2 separate regions of the Homo sapiens genome follow, and region 1 is linked to region 2. The links are contacts of gene promoters, found by promoter capture Hi-C in human tissues and cell types (Jung and others, 2019). All regions are on one chromosome and are shown on one strand. Each heading gives the region's core, a stretch centred on a gene start or on the middle of the fragment in contact. The rest is flanking DNA. Distances are from core to core; before and after follow the strand shown.

Evidence for each region. The method cuts DNA at HindIII sites, captures the fragments that hold promoters and counts their contacts. A contact is called where the count stands out against the background at its distance.
Region 1: a fragment that was not itself captured here is called in contact with the fragment with the promoter of WDR70 in region 2 in 1 of the 25 tissues and cell types used here (lymphoblastoid cells).

What each region holds. Positions count from the first base shown.
Region 1 is chr5:37,430,894-37,434,382 of GRCh38, reverse strand. The region is part of intron 5 of WDR70 (WD repeat domain 70); the gene reads right to left. Among named protein-coding and RNA genes, the nearest start is that of WDR70, 53 kb to the right of the region's middle. RefSeq lists an enhancer at 1,248-1,750. The HindIII fragment of the contact is 5,729 bases long and covers 1-3,489 here.
Region 2 is chr5:37,378,016-37,381,380 of GRCh38, reverse strand. WDR70 (WD repeat domain 70) reads right to left here and starts at 2,063. Exons shown (of 18, transcript NM_018034.4): 1 at 1,989-2,063; 2 at 1,827-1,892. The coding sequence starts at 2,013. The HindIII fragment of the contact is 7,487 bases long and covers 1-3,365 here.

The DNA of each region.
Region 1 (3,489 bases), core at 784-3,283, 53 kb before region 2:
TCTAATAACACTAACTTAACATTAATTCATTTCTTCATTGATATGGTTCGGCTGTGACCCCACCCAAAATCTCATCTTGAATTGTAATCCCCACATTCCCAGGACCAGGTGGAGGTAACTGGATCATGGGGGCAGTTTCCCCATGCTGTTCTCCTGAGAGTGAGTCTCAGAAGATCTGATGGTTTTTTATAAGCATTTGACATTTCCCCTGCTTGCATGTCGCACTCTGTCTTGCCACCCTATGAAGAAGGTGTTTCTCCTTTGCCTTCTGCCGTGATTGTAAGTGTCCTGAGGCCTCCCCAGAAGTGTGAAACTGTGAGTCAATTAAACCTCTTTCCTTTACAAATTATCCAGTCTTGTGTATTTCTTCATAGCAGTGTGAGAATGAACTAATACCTTCATTTACTCACTAAACATTCACTTAAGAAACATTTATTATTTAATTACATACCACACACTGGGTTAGATTAATGATAAAAGAACTATTAACAAAGACTCTGCTTACACAGAACTGTCAGTCCAGAAAAGCAAAATAAGACAGGTAAACAAATGGGCAAATGAAAATGTTTCAGTTGCTGTAACAGAAGTATACACAGGGTTCAGTGCTCAATTCCATTCTGCCTAAGAAAGTAGGTGGTTAGAAAAGAGATTTCTGGTATCTTTCAAAAAATAGAGGTTATCTAGATGAATATGATGAACATCCAGGAGAGAATAATATAAATCTTGACACTTTCTGAACTTCAAGTATTTTTCCCTTACTAGAGTTTGAATTGCTAGGCAGAAAATAGAGCAAGGGTGTATGTGTTATACATATACAGCACTATGCCATTTTTATATAAGGGACTTCAGCATCCTTGCATTTGGGGATCAGCAGGAGAGTCCTGGAGCCAATTCCTCTCAAAGGGCCAACTGTATACATAAAAGCCAGAGAGAGAGTTCCAAATCAGGCTGTATACAATTCCAAAAAACAGAAGTTTAAGCTCTGAGTCATAGAAAGTAATTTGATAAAGTCTGAGATTTTAGGCCAGGCACGGTGGCTCATGCCTGTAATCCCAGTACTTTGTAAGGCCAAGGTAGGCGGATCACTTGAGGCCAGGAGTTTGAGACCAGCCTGACCAACATGGTGAAACCCCATCTCTACTAAAAATACAAAAATTAGCCAGGCGTGGTAGCACACACCTGTAATTCTAACTACTTGGGAGGCTGAGGCACATGAATTGCTTGAACCTAGGAGGTGAGGGTTGCAATGAGCCAAGATCGTGCCACTGTACTCCAGCCCAGGTGACTGAGACTCTGTTCAACAACAACAAAAAAAAATCTGAGATTTTAAAATATCGCCAAGGTGTTCTGGGCATCAAAAGAGATAATCAATACAGTAAAAAGACAATCTACAGAGAAATGGGAGAAAATTTGCGCAAATCTTATATATAAGGGATTAAAATCCAGATTATATATGTTTTTTAATTTCTACAGCTCAACAACAGAAAAAAACAAACCACCTCATTTTAAAATGAGCAAAAGGCCGGGTGCGGTGGCTCACGCCTATAATCCCAGCACTTTCGGAGGCCAAGGCAGGCAGATCACGAGGAAGGTCAGGAGATCAAGACCACCCTGGCCAACATGGCAAAATCCCGTCTCTACTAAAATACAAAAAGTTAGCCAGAAAGGCCGGGCGCGGTGGCTCAAAGGCCGGGCGCGGTGGCTCATGCCTGTAATCCCAGCACTTTGGGAGGCTGAGGTGGGCGGATCACAAGGTCAGGAGATCGAGACCATCCTGGCTAACACGGCGAAACCCCATCTCTAGTAAAAAAAAAAAAAATACAAAAATTAGCCGGGCGTGGTGGCACACGCCTGTAGTCCCAGCTACTCAGGAGGCTGAGGCAGGAGAATCGCTTGAACTCAGGAGGCGGAGGTTGCAGTGAGCCGAGATCACGCCACTGCACTCCAGCCTGGGCCACAGAGCGAGACTACGTCTCAAAGATAAAAATAAAATGAGCAAAAGACTTGAACAGGCATTTCTCCAAAGAAGGTAAACAAATGGCCAATAAGCACATGAAAAGATGCTCAGCATCACTAATAATTAAGGAAATGCAAATTAAAAGCACAATGAAATATCACTTCACACTAGGATCAAAAAACTTTTACTATCAAATAAACAGAAAATAACAAGTGTTGGTAAGGAGGTAAAGAAACTGGAATCCTTGTGCAATGTTGGTAGGAATGTAAAATGGTATAGCTACTACGGAAAACAGCTTGGTAGTATCTCAGAAAATTAAAAATATAATTACTGTATGATCCAGCAATTCCAATTCTGGGTATATACCCAAAAGAATTGAAAGCAGAGTCTTGAAGAGCTATTTGTACATCCACGTTCACAGTAGTATTCACAACAACCAAGAGGTGAAAAGCAACCCAAGTATCCACTGATGGATGAATTAATCAACAAAACGTGACATAAACATAAAACAGAATATTTTTCCGTCTTAAAAGAAAGAAAATTCCGACACATGCTACAACACAGATGAACCTTGAAGACATTATATTAAGTAAAATACATCAGTTAGAAAAAGACAAATACTATATGGTTCCACTTATATGTGCTAGAGCAGTCCGATTAATAGAGATAGAAAGCAGAATGGTTGCTGCCAGGGGCTGGGGGCAGGAGGAAACTGGGAGTTGCTATTTAATGGATATAGAGTTTCAGTTAGCAAAATGAAAAAGTTCTGGGGATTGATTGTACAATAATGTGAATATATGTAACAATACTGAATTGTACACTTAAAAATGGTTAAGACGGTAAACTTTATGTTATGTGTTTTTAGCACAATAAAATTAATAATTAAAAAATCATCAAGGCTGTGGTGTGGAGGCTGAACTAGGAAATTACCAGTATAAGGTAAATGCCAGTGTAAGCACAGGGAAGCCTATTAAAATATTCTTGCAATAATCCAGAGAGGACCTGAATTGACATAATACAGTGGGAATGGAAAAAAGAAAAAAAAAGAGGAATTATATAAGAGATCTTAAGGACTTAAGATGTGAAGAAATAAAGATAGCTCTGTTACTCTCCACCCAAAGCCCTGACGTCACTCTTATAATTAACTATTCAATAAATATTTATTGAGTACTGACTATGCCTAGCACTGATGATATTCTGGTTTTAAAGAAAGAAGGTTCCTGCCTTCATGAATCTTGCAATCCGATGACAGTCAGAACTTTAAATATATATGGCCAGGCACAGGGGCTCATGCCTGCAATCCCAACGCTTTGGGAGGCCAAGGCAGCCTGATCACCTAAGGTCAGGAGTTCCAGACCAGCCTAGCCAACACAGTGAAACCCCATCACTAGTAAAAATACAAAAATTAGCCAGACATGGTGGCACAAGCCTGTAGTCCCAGCTACCCAGGAGGTTGAGGCAGGAGGATGGCCTGAACCCGGGAGGCAGAGGTTGCAGTCAGCCAAGATTGCGCCACTGCACTCCAACCTGGA
Region 2 (3,365 bases), core at 814-3,313:
AGATCCCTACCCTATGAAACAACAACACTGATGTGGGGAGGCAAAATGGAGAATGCCCCAAAAGTTACCCTTTGCAATATAATTAAGGTTATGGACTTTTAAATAGGGAAACTATCCTATTTGGCCCTTAAAGGCAAAGATGCAGAACAGCTATGGCAGAAGAAGTCAGAGAGATCCAATGTCTGAGAAGAATTTGAGGCATTATAGTTGGCTTGAAGACGAAAGGGGCAACATGAGAAGTAATGCAGGTACTTTAAGGAGCTAAGAGGGAAACAGAAATCTCAGCCCTCTAACAAGGAACTGGATGAGCATGGAAACATTCTCCTCCTCCCCCAGTAACTTTATCAAAACTCTTAAAATTTTCCCCTATTTGGCACAAACATATGGACAACTTTCTCACTCCTGAGTAAAGGAATGATGTACTAAAATGAAGGATTTATACCGGGTGGGGTGGCTCATGCCTGTAATCACTTTGAGAGGCTCAGGTGGGCGGACTGCTTGAGCTCAGGAGATTGATCAGCCTGGGCAACATGGTGAAACCTCGTCTCTACCAAAAGTATAAAAAATTAGCCAGGTGTGGTGGCACACATCTGTGGTCCCAGCTACTCAGGAGACTAAGGTGGGAGGATGGCTTAAGCCTGGGAGGAGGAGGCTGCAATGAGCGAAGATCGCACTAGTACACTCCAGCCTGGGTGACAGAGCGAGACTCCATCTCAAAAAATAAAAAAAGAATAGAAAAGGCTGGGCACAGTGGCTCACGCCTGTAATCCCAGCACTTTCGGAGGCCGAGACGGGCGGATCACGAGGTCAGGAGATCGAGATCATCCTGGCTAACACGGTGAAACCCTGTCTCTACTAAAAATACAAAAAAAAAATCAGCCGGGCGAGGTGGCGGGCGCCTGTAGTCCCAGCTACTCGGGAGGCTGAGACCGGAGAATGGCGTGAATCCGGGAGGCAGAGATTGCAGTGAGCCGAGATCTTGCCACCGCACTCCAGCCTGGGCGACTGAGCGAGACTCCGTCTCCAAAAAAAAAAAGAATGAATAGAGAAACTACAGAACTAGTATGTGTGAACACAACCCAAGGCCAATATGTGTAAGTCTACTGTTTAATTACTATCATAGAATTAATACACGCTGGTCAAAAGAAAACAAGAAGACCTTGAGAAAAGGTTCAGGGAAGTTAGAATCCCAATGTTTGGATGAACAGCATTTATAATTTTAAAATGGAAAATAAAGAGAAATCATTTTTCATGTATCAGTCTACTAAGTTTTGTTTTCATTTTTTAAATAATTTTCTTTTTAAATAATAATACCTACTCTGTGTTGGTAGGGATATGGTAAAAATGGCATTCTTAATTCTGTTAACTTTGGTATAACCTGGAACAAGTTTTTTGATGGGTATTACGGCAATAAGCATCAAGAAGCTTTAAAAGGCACATACCCAATTTTTCAGCTTTTTAAGTATTTATATTTCTGAATAAACTACACTCTCTTTTAGAAATCTACCCTACCGAATTACGTATTTTTAAAAATCCTCGTACAAATGCTGTTATTTACAAAAATGTTCATTTTAGCATTATTGGTGACTTAAAATTAGAAAAATCCTTTCTCTTCCTCTCTCTCCAGACTCTCATAACTGTCATCTGAGTTGGTTCCAACGGATAACGCAGAATAGAAGACAAATGGGAGAAGAATATTGACAAACTGCAAGGTATGCACCCGAGCTACAATAATTCCGAGTTGACAGCTCGATCTCCACTCCCACTCTGCGGATCTTCAAACCTCTGCACAAGGAAGAGGGTCTCTGCCTGGGGCAGTCACTCACCGAACCCCGTGAAGCCCATGGTGACCGCAAGCTGCGGGTCCGGTCCCGACGCGTCTGAGCCTGTCACTGGAGCAAGAGGAAAAGAGAGGCGGCCTAGTTAGTGCGGCGCCCCAGCTCCCCCGACACGGCCCACCCCGCCCGGACTCGCCTCATGAAACCCACCTTCGCTGGGCCCAGAGCGCTCCATGGCTGGCCGCACACCCCAGAACCAGCCACAGGGACAGCCCAAACAACTGCAGGGGAACTTGCCAATAACTTGCGGCAAATGCTGGAGGAAGTACCGCCTTCAAGCTACAGCGGCGCCGCCGAAGCCAAGAGCGGCGCCTTCCGCAGAGGGACCGCGGCTTTCTGCGCGGCACCGCCCTACCGGACAGGCGGGAAAGCGCCGCGCAACTCAGACCACTGGAGGGGAGAAGTAGTATCTGGAGTTTCTATAACATCCTTTCCCTTTTTTTTTTTTTTTTTTTAAGCCAGAGCCTCTGTCGCCCAGGCTGCAGTACAGTGGCGTAATCTCAGCTGACTGCAACCTCTGCCTCCCGGGATCAAGCGATTCTCCTGCCTCAGCCTCCCGAGTAGCTGGGATTACAGGTGCCGGCTAATTTTTGGTTTTTTGTTTTGGTTTGTTTTTTTTTTGTTTTTGTTTTTGTTTTGAGACGGAGCCTCTGTCGCCCAGGCTGGAGTGCAATGGCGTGATCTCGGCTCACTGCAACCTCCGCCTCCCGGGTTCAAGCGATTCTCCTGTCTCAGCCTCCCAAGTAGCTGGGATTACAGGCGTCCACCACCACGCGCAGCTAATTTTTTGTATTTTTAGTAGACACGACGTTTTGCCATGTTGGCCAGGCTGGTTTCGAACTCCTGGCCTCAAGTGATCCGCCTGCCTCGGCCTCCCAAAGTGCTGGGATTACAGGCGACACCCTTTGCTTTTTTTTTTTTTTTTTTTTTTTTTGAGGCAGAGTCTCACTCTGTTGCCCAGGCTGGAGTGCAATGGCGTGATCTCGGCTCACTGCAACCTCTGCCACCCAGGTTCAAGCTCTTCTCTTGCCTCAGTGTCCTGAGTAGCTGGGATTACAGGCGCCTGCCACCACACCCGGCTAATTTTTGTGTATTTAGTAGAGACGGGGTTTTGCTATGTTGGCCAGGCTGGTCTTGAACTCCTGACCTCAGGTGATCTGCCCACCTTGGCCTCCCAAAGTGCTGGGATTACAGGCCCCGTGCCACCGCGCTCTGCCTTTTTGTTGTTGTTGTTGTTGTTGTTGACTGAGTCTCCCTCTGTTGCCTTGGCTGGAGTGCAGTGGCGTGATCTCAGCTGACTGCAACCTCTGCCTCCCAGGTTCAAGCGATTCTCTTGCCTCAGCCTCCCGAGCAGCTGGGACTACAGGTGTGCGCCACCATGCCCGGCTATTTAGTATTTGAGACTACAGGCACCCGCCACCACGCCCAGCTAATTTTTTCTATTTTTAGTAGAGGCAGGGTTTACACCGTGTTAGCCAGGATGGTCTCAATCTCCTGACCTTGTGATCTGCCCACCTCAGCCTCCCA